3 separate regions of the Homo sapiens genome follow, and all the other regions are linked to region 1. The links are contacts of gene promoters, found by promoter capture Hi-C in blood cells and fetal thymus (Javierre and others, 2016). All regions are on one chromosome and are shown on one strand. The core of a region is centred on a gene start or on the middle of the fragment in contact, and the rest is flanking DNA. Distances in the headings are between cores, read along the strand shown. Region 1 holds the start of VANGL2 (VANGL planar cell polarity protein 2). Region 2 overlaps ATP1A2 (ATPase Na+/K+ transporting subunit alpha 2). Region 3 overlaps CD48 (CD48 molecule).

The links. Contacts are between HindIII fragments. The CHiCAGO score rates a contact against its expected background, and 5 or more counts as called.
Region 2: a contact is called between a fragment that was not itself captured here and the fragment with the promoter of VANGL2 in region 1, in 2 of 17 cell types (erythroblasts and M1 macrophages). The highest score is 5.4, in erythroblasts.
Region 3: a contact is called between a fragment that was not itself captured here and the fragment with the promoter of VANGL2 in region 1, in 3 of 17 cell types (fetal thymus, erythroblasts and activated CD4 T cells). The highest score is 7.1, in fetal thymus.

Annotation. Positions count from the first base shown.
Region 1 is chr1:160,398,458-160,402,218 of GRCh38, forward strand. It overlaps VANGL2 (VANGL planar cell polarity protein 2), which reads left to right and starts at 2,107. Exons shown (of 8, transcript NM_020335.3): 1 at 2,107-2,412. The region is part of intron 3 of LOC105371466 (a long non-coding RNA gene); the gene reads right to left. The HindIII fragment of the contact is 3,661 bases long and covers 206-3,761 here.
Region 2 is chr1:160,138,437-160,142,687 of GRCh38, forward strand. ATP1A2 (ATPase Na+/K+ transporting subunit alpha 2) reads left to right here. Exons shown (of 23, transcript NM_000702.4): 21 at 1,204-1,305; 22 at 1,457-1,548; 23 at 2,858-4,251. The coding sequence ends at 2,886. Among named protein-coding and RNA genes, the nearest start is that of ATP1A4, 11 kb to the right of the region's middle. The HindIII fragment of the contact is 4,223 bases long and covers 1-4,023 here.
Region 3 is chr1:160,677,475-160,681,619 of GRCh38, forward strand. CD48 (CD48 molecule) reads right to left here. Exons shown (of 4, transcript NM_001778.4): 3 at 3,728-3,994; 4 at 1,272-1,657. The coding sequence ends at 1,578. Among named protein-coding and RNA genes, the nearest start is that of CD48, 32 kb to the right of the region's middle. RefSeq lists an enhancer at 3,960-4,049. The HindIII fragment of the contact is 1,041 bases long and covers 1,100-2,140 here.

The DNA.
Region 1 (3,761 bases), core at 857-3,356:
TAATACAGAGAATTGCTGAATGGGACAGACCACACCAATAAAATTTTTTGTTGGACTCTGTAATCCAGTGTTTTCATTGCAGAGATGTAATTGAAAGCCCCCAACCTCACCGTCAGAGAAAGGAGGGACTAAGCTTATTCTAGCCTGATGCCTGATACCTGTTAATTGGGAAGCCTTGTCTGTTAACATCCTGACTTAGGTTTCAAGCTTTCAGTGGGGCCAGACTATGGAATTATCTGTAATTCTGGCATCAGAAGCCCTTTTTCCAGTTCTTTGGGCCATTTTGGGGTCTGTGAAACAGGCTAGCAGCATGTGAAGATAATTCACACTAAATCTGCCTGAGAGTCAAGACAGTGCCACGGCAGCCCCGACTCTGTGTCAAATTACACACTAGCTGCCTAGCACTGGGGTGTGCTTTGGGGCAGGGCTGGGGACACCCATGTCCTCCCTACTTCCCTTAACCCTTCCCCAGCTCTCCTGCCACTCCCTCATACACCTGGTCGTGGTCACTGCCAGGAGCCCCAGTGCGGCCCAGTGCCTGCACATGATAGGCACAAGGTGAATGAGTGCCTGGACGCATGCAGGGACTTGGGTACCTGAAATGATGATTCTGCATATTTCATGTAGTCTTGATGCTGAGTCACCTGCTTACCCATACTACTGGAGGAGGGGATGAGGAAAGACAGAGTTTGGGCAAAGGAGAAAGGAAGTGTGTTTTACTGTTCTGCATCTTTGAACAATGCAGCATAGTTGGTTCTGTCCTCATCTTTGGACAGGTTAGAATGAACCATCAAAAGGGGTGAGATTAGGTCTCAGGAAATAGTTTTCATCAGGGAGGAGCAAAAATTCCCAAACAAGTGAGGAACAGAGGCTGGGAGTCTCTTTCTCTGGGATTCCTTAATCACAGGGTTGTTCAAGCAGGTGCCAGGATTGGAAACTGAAGGAGGCTGAGATATTGAAAAGGCCTTGGCCTGCTTAGGGAGAAGTATGTGAAGATGCTTTTGAAATGATACTACTCTAAGTGGCGGGTTGCACGGCAATAACATTAATGATAATTGAATACTGCTTTCACTTACTCCAAGGGGAACATGGACTTCCCACAGCCCAGGCTTTTACGGTGTGGGTTCACTCTTGTAGGGTCACATGTAAAAGAACCCTAACTGGTTTCTTGGCATACTGGGAGGCACAAATGCCCCAAACGTGTAGGATATTTTGTGAGATCCTACAATCCCTGTGTGGCACCTTCAACTCTAAAGTATCTGAAACTCCTGGGATGGACAATCTGCCTGCTTGGGGTTGGGGACCCAACTGGCCAAGGCATTTTTCCTCTTGGAGGTTTCCTGGGAGAAGGCCCCCTCTCCTCTGCCATTCAAACTCCCAGGCGCCCGCGTCTTTTCCTCCTCCCCTTCTTCCCTAAGGCAGGGTTCCCTTTGTAATTAATCCCAACACTCAAACCAGAGGGGAGGAAAAATGTGTTAATGAGGGAGCGTCCCAGACTGACTGGGGCGGTCGCTGCTCGCAGCTAGAACTCCAAGTAATTAAATTATTTTTGGAAGGAGGGGATATGGTGGTGATGGTGTCAGGGAAATCCCCGTATGCATGGGAAGAGGCGTGCGCCTCTCGCCACTAATTAAAATCAGGGATGACCCTCCCTTCTCGGACCCCTAGGGGGAAAAAAAAAATCAATCTTCCCACGTCCCAGATTCCATTGGATTTTGTGTAGTCGGGTCCGTGGCCCTAAAGAGAATATGGCCAGCCCCAGGGATCTGGGGGCTCCTTCTCCGACAGGAGGGGTCCAGGAAGACAGCCCCAGGAGGGACTGCGGGCTGGGCCAAGTCCAAGAATCGAGGCATTCCCCTGCCCACCGTTCGGGACCCGAGTGTCAGCCCCACCGCGGATTCCCAGGATCGGGGAGGGCCGCTGGGCATCTGAAGGCGCAGGGCTGGGGGAGCGGCGACTCCGGGAAGAGCGGGGCCGCAGACAATGGACGCGGCGGTAGGAGGGGCGGCGGCTGTGGGAACAGCCGGGAGGCGGCACCCGGGAGCTCGCGCTCCCCCGCCCCCTGCACCCCCCACCCTCATCCCCTCCCCCTCCGCCCCCTCCCCCCTGCGCCGCCGGCTCCCGATCTGATTCCTGATCCTTGATTCCTTGATCCTTGGTCCCGCCATGGGAGCCTGAGCGCCCCCTATTCCCCCCTGGCCCCCAGCCCCCGGGGCCTTGAGGGGGAAGAGGCAGCGGTCTGGGACGGAGCAGGGGGTGACCAGACTCAAGAACCCCCCCCTCAACATCCCCCATCGCGCGCGCTGCCTGTCCAGGAGCGCCGAGTTCGGAGCGACCCGGAGCGCTGCGGATACAAAGGCGACGGGCCGAGCGGGGCGCCCGCGGAGCCCACCCGGCAGTTCGCAGCGGCGGGTGAGTGCCGGGCCGCGGGGGCGCGGGCAAAGTTTGAAAAAAAAAGAAGAAAGAAAGAGAGAGAAAAAAAGAAATGGAAAAGGAGGAAAATCATGCAAGGGGCCAGGGGGTGCCCGACCCCAGAGCGAGCGGGGTGGCTTATGGGGGAAGGGGGGCTGGACTCCGGGCAACCCCCTTCCGGTCCGCTTCCCCACTGCACAGCGGAGTACCCCCCCCAACTTTGGGGAGGGGAAGGGGCTCGTGGGGAGGGGGCGGAGCCCAGGCCTGGAGAGCCGGGGACTTTCCTGGGCCCGGGCGGGGGCCTTAATGATCCCAGGGGAGCCGGTTGAAGCCGGAGACGGGGAGCTTGTGTTGGAGGTGGGGGGAGAGGCGTGGAAGGATCGGAGTCTGGAGGTATTGGAAGCCAAGGGTGTTTTGGGGTGCATACACCCCTCAGGAGCGTGGGGAGGGACGGAGGCAGGTATGCGTTAAGGGTGTAGAGTGGAGTCAGGGGGGCGGGTTGGGCAGAGTAGATAGGGTGTATGTACAGACCGAGGATGGGGCTGGAGGCGGTAGACTGTGTATAGGGGCCGAGGGGACAGGCGCTGGCATCCCTCTCCCCACTCATATTTACCCATCTGGGGGACTGTGGGCTCTGCGTTAGTGAGTTTTGAAGGGTTGGTGGAGGATCCGTGTGCATGATTCTTTGTTTTGGTGTGTGTGCACGCCTTGACGTGCTGCATGTTCCTGCAGGTGGGCCCCTGGTTTGGATGTGTAGGTGTTTTTCTGTGCTTGAGTGTGTGTGCACCCAGGGAGCGGCTGACCATGCATCTGCTGTGTGTTTGGATATGTGTTTATATGTATACTTAGGGGAGGGCGTGTATGTCTATGTGTGTGTACTGGGAGAGGGGTTCACGGGAAAGAGGTGTGTAGGTACTGAGGAAGGTGGGTGTGTAAGAGCAGAATGGAGTGTATGTGGATAGGTGTGTGTGCACCTGTGTACTGGGAAGGGGTGTGAATCTGTGTTCTCTTGTGTGTAACCTGTGTTGATGGGTATCAATGTGTGTGCCTGCCTTAGCTGGTATGTATGTTTCTGAGTGTGTGTCGGGGGTACCTCTAGACTCTGCAGGCAGATTTTCCTGGCAAAAATCCCGAAAAGAAGGCTGTCTGCAGGATTTTGAGACTTCGTGGATGGCCTCGCCTGGGTTTAGGGGTAGTACCTTAAGTATCTGAGACCTATGGGTGGGAGGGAATGAGTTGTCTTATGAAGTGCCTGTTTTTGGGGGATGGGTTTTTCTGGAAGAGGGCGTGTGTTGTGGGGAATAGGGAACAAGGGGTCTGGTTGTAGTCCTAGAGGAATTTGGAAGATT
Region 2 (4,251 bases), core at 662-3,161, 260 kb before region 1:
AGACAAACAATTAAATGTGGCCTTTACAGAAGAAAATAAGGAGGTCCTTAGTGAGTGAAAATTTGGAAATCACTGGCTTGAACCAAAAAGAGGTACCTTGTGTAAGAATACAAAAGATGGAGTAGCCGGGGACAGTGGTTCACACCTGTAATCCCAGCACTTTGGGAGGCTGAGACAGGAGAATCAATTGAGCCCAAGAGTTTGGTACTAGCCTGGGCACATGGTGAAACTCTATCTCTACAAAAAATATAAAAATTAGCAGGGCGTGGTGGCACACACCTGTAATTCCAGCTACTGGAGAGGCTGAGGCAAGAGGGTCACTTGAGCCCAAGAGGTGGAGGTTACAGTGAGCTGTGATCGTCCAGCCTGGGCAACAGAGTGAGACTCTGTCTCAGAAAAAAAAAGTGGAGTAATAATGTGACTGAACATTTTCCAGGTCTGTCACTGAACATTTCAGTGACAGAACATTGCAGAGCTTTTCACGTGTTATCTCCCTTAATTTTCCCAGCAACCCTATGATAAAAAGGTAAAATCTCCATTTGATAGAGAAGGAACGTGAGGCTCAGAGAAATTCAACATTGCCTGCAACCCAAAGCTAGTCAATGGCAGAACTGGGAATAGACACCACCTGTCTGACTGCAGAAACTGCCCTGAGAACCTCCTTATTCTATCCTGCTTTTCAATTCTGATAAAGTGAACATATATTAACCACTTATTATGCAGTGATCCCCTTTACATTCTCTGAATTAAATATCTATAATGAAACCACCACCAGGAACTGTGGGAGATGCTGAGACGGTAGAAGACATACATGGGCCCTGCACTGAAGGAGCTTTCAAGCATCTTGCTGGGGAGACACACTTTCATGGGCCCTGTGCCTGGAGCAATAACAAGATCATGAGACAGGCCCCATGTTGACCACCGTGTCTCCAGTACAGAACACGTCACCCAACACCTAGAAACAATTATTTAATGAATGAATATACGTGCAATAGACAACATTCGGACGTAAACTCAGTAAGCAGAAAAACAAATAACATCTTCCTTTGGTTACATAAAGCATGAGAAGAGGCTGTTGGAAGAAGACATGCGACTATGTCGTTTAGAATTCTCTCTCCTCTTTCCCTTGCACCCCAGGGGTATCCCAGGATCTCTGCCTCCATGATCCCCCTTCACCTGCCACCTCCTTTCTTTGCCTTTCAGGAACAAGATCCTGATTTTTGGGCTCCTGGAGGAGACGGCGTTGGCTGCCTTTCTCTCTTACTGCCCAGGCATGGGTGTAGCCCTCCGCATGTACCCGCTCAAGTGAGTGTCTCTTTCGGGCGGCCTGAGTAGTCATACGGGGGGCCTTCAGCCCCCTCCAGGATCCAAGTTCTGATCGCTTTGAATGCTCCTTTATGTGACAGCCACCAAGCCAACCTCTGATGCTGCTGACACTCTCCTCCATTGCTTTCAGAGTCACCTGGTGGTTCTGCGCCTTCCCCTACAGCCTCCTCATCTTCATCTATGATGAGGTCCGAAAGCTCATCCTGCGGCGGTATCCTGGTGGTAAGCCCCTCCACATTCCCCCCAGCAAAGTGCAAGCCCCACCACCAGCTCCTCCCTCCAGGACCACACGCAGACTCCACTCCCACTACTGGTTCCTGCTTCTGTTCCTCAACACCCTCAGATCCTGGGGTCCCAGGTCCCAGGAGCCCTGACTCTTTCGAACCTGTTGTCTCTGCCCTCTTCCCATCAGATTCTAAACCCCGCCTAACTCACAGTTGGTCTCCGAGGCCCTCCACCTTCCACCTGAAACCACAGAACATCAGAATTAGAAGGGCCTTTCCAGGTCACCTAGTCCCACGTCCATATTTTACAGATAGAGGAGGCTCAGAGGTGAATCTGTTCAGGGTCGTAAAGCAAAGAATAGCAGGACTGGTACTAGAACCCAGGCCTCCTGATCCCCACTCATCAACCGACAAGTTATTGTTTTTCCTACAAGCGTTTTTTAATCACTTAGTAGAGGTTAAAATATGATGGCTTACAAACCAAATACTGTCCAGGAATACTGTTTGGTTTGACCTGTGCCATATTTTGTGTGTGTGGGGGGAGGAGGGTGGATTAATTGGTCCGATATAGAAAATTTAGGGTCTTTCACATAAAATCTGAATTCGACTTCTCCTGAAGATCAGAAGAGCTGTTAATCCCATGTCCACATCTCTGCACAGCAAGAATGGACAGCTGCTCCCTTAGACTCTCGTTCGTCACCTGAAGAGGCCCTGTGGGCGTTTGCATTTTCACCCTCGACCTATTCTGCCCCAGCCTCCAATGTGCTAAATACAAGTCTCCCCTAAAGGCAGGTTCACCCTCCCTTCCTTTAACCTATGGCCCCAGCTCACTGGACCTCCTTCTCCTCCCTTTCACCTTCTTTTTTTTTTTTTTTTTTTTTTTTTTTTTGAGACGGAGTCTCGCTCTGTCGCCCAACCAGGAGTGCAGTGCAGTGGCACGATCTCGGCTCACTGCAAGCTCCGCCTCCTGGGTTCAAGCAATTCTCTTGCCTCAGCCTCCAGAGTAGCTGGGATTGCAGGCGCATGCCACTATGCCCGACTAATTTTTTGTATTTTTAGTACAGACAGGGTTTCACTGGGTTAGCCAGGAGTCTTGATCTCCGCCTGCCTCAGCCTCCCAGTATGCTGGGATTACAGGCATGAGCCACTGCACCCAGCCTCCTTCCACCTTCCTAAGCCACTTCCCCCAGTGCCCTTCACCAGGCTTCTCCTTCCACCTGGCTTCAGCGACCCAAGCCCCTAGGAAATTGATCTCTTGCCTCCTTTTAAGCTCATGCTGCAATCTCCACTCCCAATCTCTCTAACAGGCTGGGTGGAGAAGGAGACATACTACTGACCCCATTGGAAGAAGAACCAGGCATGGAAAGATGGGGAGCTCTGGAGGTGTTGTGGGGATGGTGATGGAGAGGGATGGAAATAACGGGTGGCATTGGGTGGCAACATTTGGGGAGAGATAATGAGGCAACTCAGCAGGCTAAGTTGCGGGGTATATAAATTGGGGTGATGACCCCATAGACCTAACTGTGAACAATCAGATTAGACACTATGTGTTAGAGTCCCCCCGACCAGATCCTTTTCCATCCCACTCCACTATGTTGTCTATTTTTTCTGAGGAATTAAGGGTTACCCCACCCTGCCCACTCCCATCCCTTCAACCCCACTTCCTACTGTAATAGATCAGCATCCAAAAGCAGGAACCCATCTAAACCAGAAGGAAGCCCTCTCAGATCACCCCAGCCTCACTCCATTTCCCACTTCCACCCCCGTTAGCTTCCTGCAGGACTCTATCCCTGGCTTCCCCTTCAGACCTTGCAATCACAAAAGGTTCTTCTGGTGAGTGCAAGAGCCTGAGACTGGAAAAGGTGGACTTGTCTCCCAGTCGAGGCTGGTAAGGGACCTTCAGGGAGAGCTGGGCAGACAGGTGGGAGATGGAGGTAGGGCTGGCTGGAGGAAGGAAACAACAAAGGAAGTGAGGTAGTGCCAATGACAGGACATTTGACATGAGTCTCCAGATAGATGTCGTGGACTCCAGCTCTACGTCCCACATTTTAGAATACCCCACCAGCAGAACAAACTCAGATCTCATCAGGGTAGCAGCAGAGGCAGGACCAGAAGGCAATCAAGAGCTTCCAGAAATGCCACACTTGTGTGCCACAGAGTTCCCCGCTGACCCTTGGTTAGGGGTCCTCTTAGTCCACAAGGTCCGGATGTCACTCATGTACTTAATAACACTTCACCTTCTGTAATACTAAGTCCTCAGAGCTCCATGCTGTTCTGAAAGGGATGGCCACAAGTTCTTTCCCAGCCTCTTCCATTCCCTTTCTTTTCATGCCCATCCCGATGAACCTGCATCATTCCCCGACACTGCCAAGCCAACCCTGGAAAAGGAGTTCGCTGGCCATTGGCTAGAATCAGGGTGGAGAAGTTCCCTGAACCTTCCTGTCTCCCAGGGACATGTATGCTTCCAGGGACAAGCTTAGGTCATGAACATGGTCAGAACCTTTGGACAAGAGGAAAAATACTAAGAGATTTGCTTTTTCTGGGTGCGGTGGCTCATGCCTGTAATCCCAGCACTTTGGGAGGCCGAGGCAGGTGGATCATGAGGTCAGGAGTTCGAGGCGAGCCTGGCCAACATGGTGAAACCCTGTCTCTACTAAAAGTACAAAAAATTAGCCAGTCATGGTGGCACACGCCTGTAATC
Region 3 (4,145 bases), core at 370-2,869, 280 kb after region 1:
GGTGAGTTCAGATGGGGATGCAGGCTGCTCAGAGGTGAGTTCGGATGGGGATGCAGGCTGCTTAGGGGTGAGTTCAGATGGGGATGCAGGCTGCTCAGAGGTGAGTTCAGATGGGGATGCAGGCTGCTCAGAGGTGAGTTTGGATAGGGATGCAGGCTGCTCAGGGGTGAGTTCGGATGGGATGCAGACTGCTCAGAAGTGAGTTTGGATGGGGATGCAGGCTGCTCAGAGGTGATTTTGGATGGGACTACAGGCTGGGCTCAGGGTGGGGGGTTTCTTCGGAAGCCCAGGCTGTCTTGTGGAAAAGACAAAACCCTACCTTTCTTATCATGCTTGTGCAATGTAGGGCAGGCAGCTGCCTTCCAAACAATGGCTCCGATGCAGTTCCTTGCATCATATAGCCAGACTTCCGAAGTCCTTCACTCCTGCCACATCCATGCCGCCCACTTTCTATTGGACAGATTTCATCACATGGCTCCAGCTAAACACAAAAGTAGCTGGGAAAAAGAGTTTTTTCACTCACCCAGGGGAAAATGAGAAGGTTTGGCAAACACATAGCACTGTATCTGTCACCGAGGAGATGGGGTGAGGAGGGAAGGGCCACGAGGGAGATGGGGGAGGCTGGTCTGGTTTGAAAGGCAAGCAGTCTGTGGTGGGCAGTTTTCTGAAGGGGAAGTGCATTCTGTAGTGACCCTTTCAGCTCCAGGCACATGAGGAGACTTAGAGGAGGGGACATTAAGCAAAAATCCCAGGTGTTATGTCAGTGGTGGGCCTGGGGGCGCCTACCTGCATATAGTGGACAACTCTGGTGAGAACACTGTGTCGATCTGATGGTTTTTTTGGATCCAGTGAAACGACTAGGAGTTGAAGACTTGCCCACACAGTCAATGGAAAAGAGGAGAGAGAATTCAGCTCCCTATGCGAGGCTTGTGGGGCAGGAAGGCTTCTTATGAGATAGAGCTGCATCCTTCCTTCTGCGAGAGCAAGCCTGAACCTATGTTTGCAGCAGACTTAAGGAGAGTGGTCCTCAGAGGGGTCAGAGCAAGGCAAGCCACTGGGAAGGAGGCAAAGGCTTGGCAGGGGAGCTGGAGCCCCAGGAAGCTTAGCATGGATGTTGGAATAAGGGTCAGAAGTAGCACAAATTGGCTCCTCAGCTGTGTTGACACACAGGAGCCGGTGGCTCCAGGCTCTCCCCTCTGTGTCTCCAGATTCCAGTTTCTCCCAGCTGATGGAGCAGGCACTGTCTGACAGATTTGGGACAACTTCAGGAATTCAGTTAATTGACAATTATATCAAATGTTTATTTTAAAAAATAATAAAACATTCACATAATGTTGTCACAATTTTGGGTGGGAAAAAAGCATGTGTATCTCTATATCTCTGTGTACTAGAAAACAACAAAGGGATATAAAATTAAATAATAACCAGTATTTAAAAGTTAACTTGAAAATCCTCGTTGATAATTCAGCAGCATGCTTCTGGTCAGCCTATACAGTCTCTGTCCTGGTGAGGAGCATGATCACCAACAGGCAAGATCTTCTGGCCTTGAAGTTTCGCTTGAGTTAAAAGAGCTCATCTCAGGTAAGTAACAGGCCAAGAATGGTGGGCACCGTGACCACTAGCCAACTTGCAATCCATTCTACTCCAAAGGACCGGGCTGAAAGAGCAAGAAAACCCTATATGCTTAGGTATCTTTATCTTGACTAATGTATTGAGAAGGGGCAAGTGTACTGGACACTGGTGTGGGAGCTCACAGAGCAGGGAAATTAATTTCTTCCCTGAATCCCATCCTATTTGGCTGGGACATTCTTTTCCTCAATCTCCCCAAACATAAAGTATAAAAAATGCAGAAATTCCTTAAATATCACTGGCTTACCTGGGCCCTGTGCTCAAAGGTTACCTCGACATATCTGTGGCCTGGGAAAGCATTGCTCCCCTACTCTGGACATCAACGAGGTAGGGTAGATCTTCAGGTACAGACAGATGACCACATGATACAATGCACAGCTGACTTTAGAGAGAAAAGGACCACTTCCTTTCCTTGTTTCTCTACCCCACTAAGTATCTGCACCAACTAGGAAGAAGAAGGGAAGAGAAAGGAAGACAGAAAAGGAAAGGAAAAGAAAAAGGATGGAAGGAAAGCTTAGATGCTGGGGTGGGGAAGGGCTGAGCTGGAGAAAATAAAAAAAAGGAATGAGTGATACAGTAGGGAAAGGAGTTTGAGGGGGCTTTCTAGGATAATTTCGGTGACTAAAAAGTGACAGATGGGTTTACCCTTCCAAAAAAAATGGATTTATTATTGCTTTTATCCTCTCTTCGGATGAACAGTCACACCCATTTTATAGAGGACAGGGAATGTGCGTCTTCCTTTTTCTGGATCTCAGGATGTGATATTGATATGAGGGTGGTGTTGGAACCACCAGCCAAATTGTGTTCTCATGGTCAGATACCACACTGTCACAGTGGGTCTGTGGTGGCAGAAGAGCAAGGCATATCAGGAGAGGCTGGTAGAGACAGGGCCAATTAGTTAGGAAGAATAAGGAAGAGCATACACAGTCTCCGTAGTCCACATGTGGGAGTAGAGATAAAGAAATCAGTGCAGTTAAGGAGGGTAGACAGAGCCCAGGAAGACCACAAAACAGCAACGTTCTCAGAGGCCAGAATCCCTGATGACTGGGCATGACAGGGGTCACAGGTGAATGTGAGCACCTCAGGTCTGAGTTATTCTAGAAGAATGTGTACGCTAGGGCTCAGGGATCTGACTTCAGGATTGTGGAGGGTATCTGACTCTGGTATTTCCCAGAGTGCTGGAGATATTGATCCAAGTTTATTAAGGGTCCCCAAAACTCTAAGAGACTGCGTCTCATTTAGCTCCCGCTTACTAAGGACTTGTCAGCCACTGTGATAGGCAGTTACGTGTCTTGTCTCATTGAATCCTTAGCACGAGATAGGAACTGTTATTTTGTCCTTTATTTAGGAAGAACATGACTTGGGGAAGCTAAGTAACTTGTTTAGCTAGTAAGTGACAGTCCTAGAAGTGACCCCAGGTATGACTGACTCTAAAACCCATGGCCTTAGCTGTCCCATGCTAGCACCAGTGTAGGCCTGATCTAGAGCCAGGTGTGACACTCATGAGTGGATCCTCCCAGGAGACAGGGGAATCTGGCTTCCTAAGTTCATCTAGGAACATCAGGCTGGGGAGGAGAAGCTTCGCCTGAGGCTCAGGCTCTCACGCCTCCTCGACGGCCTCTCTCAGGCCCGTCTCCTCAGTCCCTCTTTCCCTGGCTGACTTTGGCGGTCTAATGACCTCGGTCCCTCTTTCCTTGGCTGACTTCGGCTGTCTAATGAAGCCCCTCTAGACAGCTGCTCGCCCACTTGCCCTTCCTTCTCCCTGCTCACCCTGATGTTTCAGTCTACTCTATGATGACCCTGGCCTCAGATGTTAGGACTATGCTTTGTTAGAGCGGGAGAGGGAAGAGGAGTATCAGAGATCTCTCCCAAACGTCCTTTGCAGGTGAGAACACTGAGCCCCCACGAAGTTGAGGTAAGCTGGCTGGGAGGTGGTGGTAGAGCTGGTGGCAGAACCCACGTCTCCCAGCTCTCCCAGACACCTTAGGGATTCACCACCACACTGTGCAAGGAGGCTGAATAGGACCCCCAGCCTTTCTTTGTTCAAAACAACTCCAGTTACCCTGTGCCCCCCTCAGCTCCCAGGGATCCTTCTTACCCAGGGTACAGGGTGGACTGAGGCAGACCGTGCCATTCTTGCTGCTCACAGAATTGCTGACTTGGCAAGTATAACACCTGGAGTAATTATGTGGCATAAGGGTGGTTTCAAGCACACTGTTCTGGAGCTCCTTTGGGAAGGGCCTTTTGTCCCCATACCAGGTGTAGTTTACAGACTCGCCAGGTATCACACATGACAGTTTCAGATAACAGTTGTCATCCATGTCTTCTATCTTCTCAATTTTGATGACAGGCTTGGGTACAGGGTCTGAAAGTGAGGAGGATGTTATAAGATGAGACAGTGAGGCATTCATGCTGTGAAGGTTTAGCCAACAAAGAACAAAGGGATCCAGGGAAGGGGCCTGAATGCCCCAGGAGGCAGAGTCATGAAGAAGAAGTTCTACAGAGGGAGCCAGTGA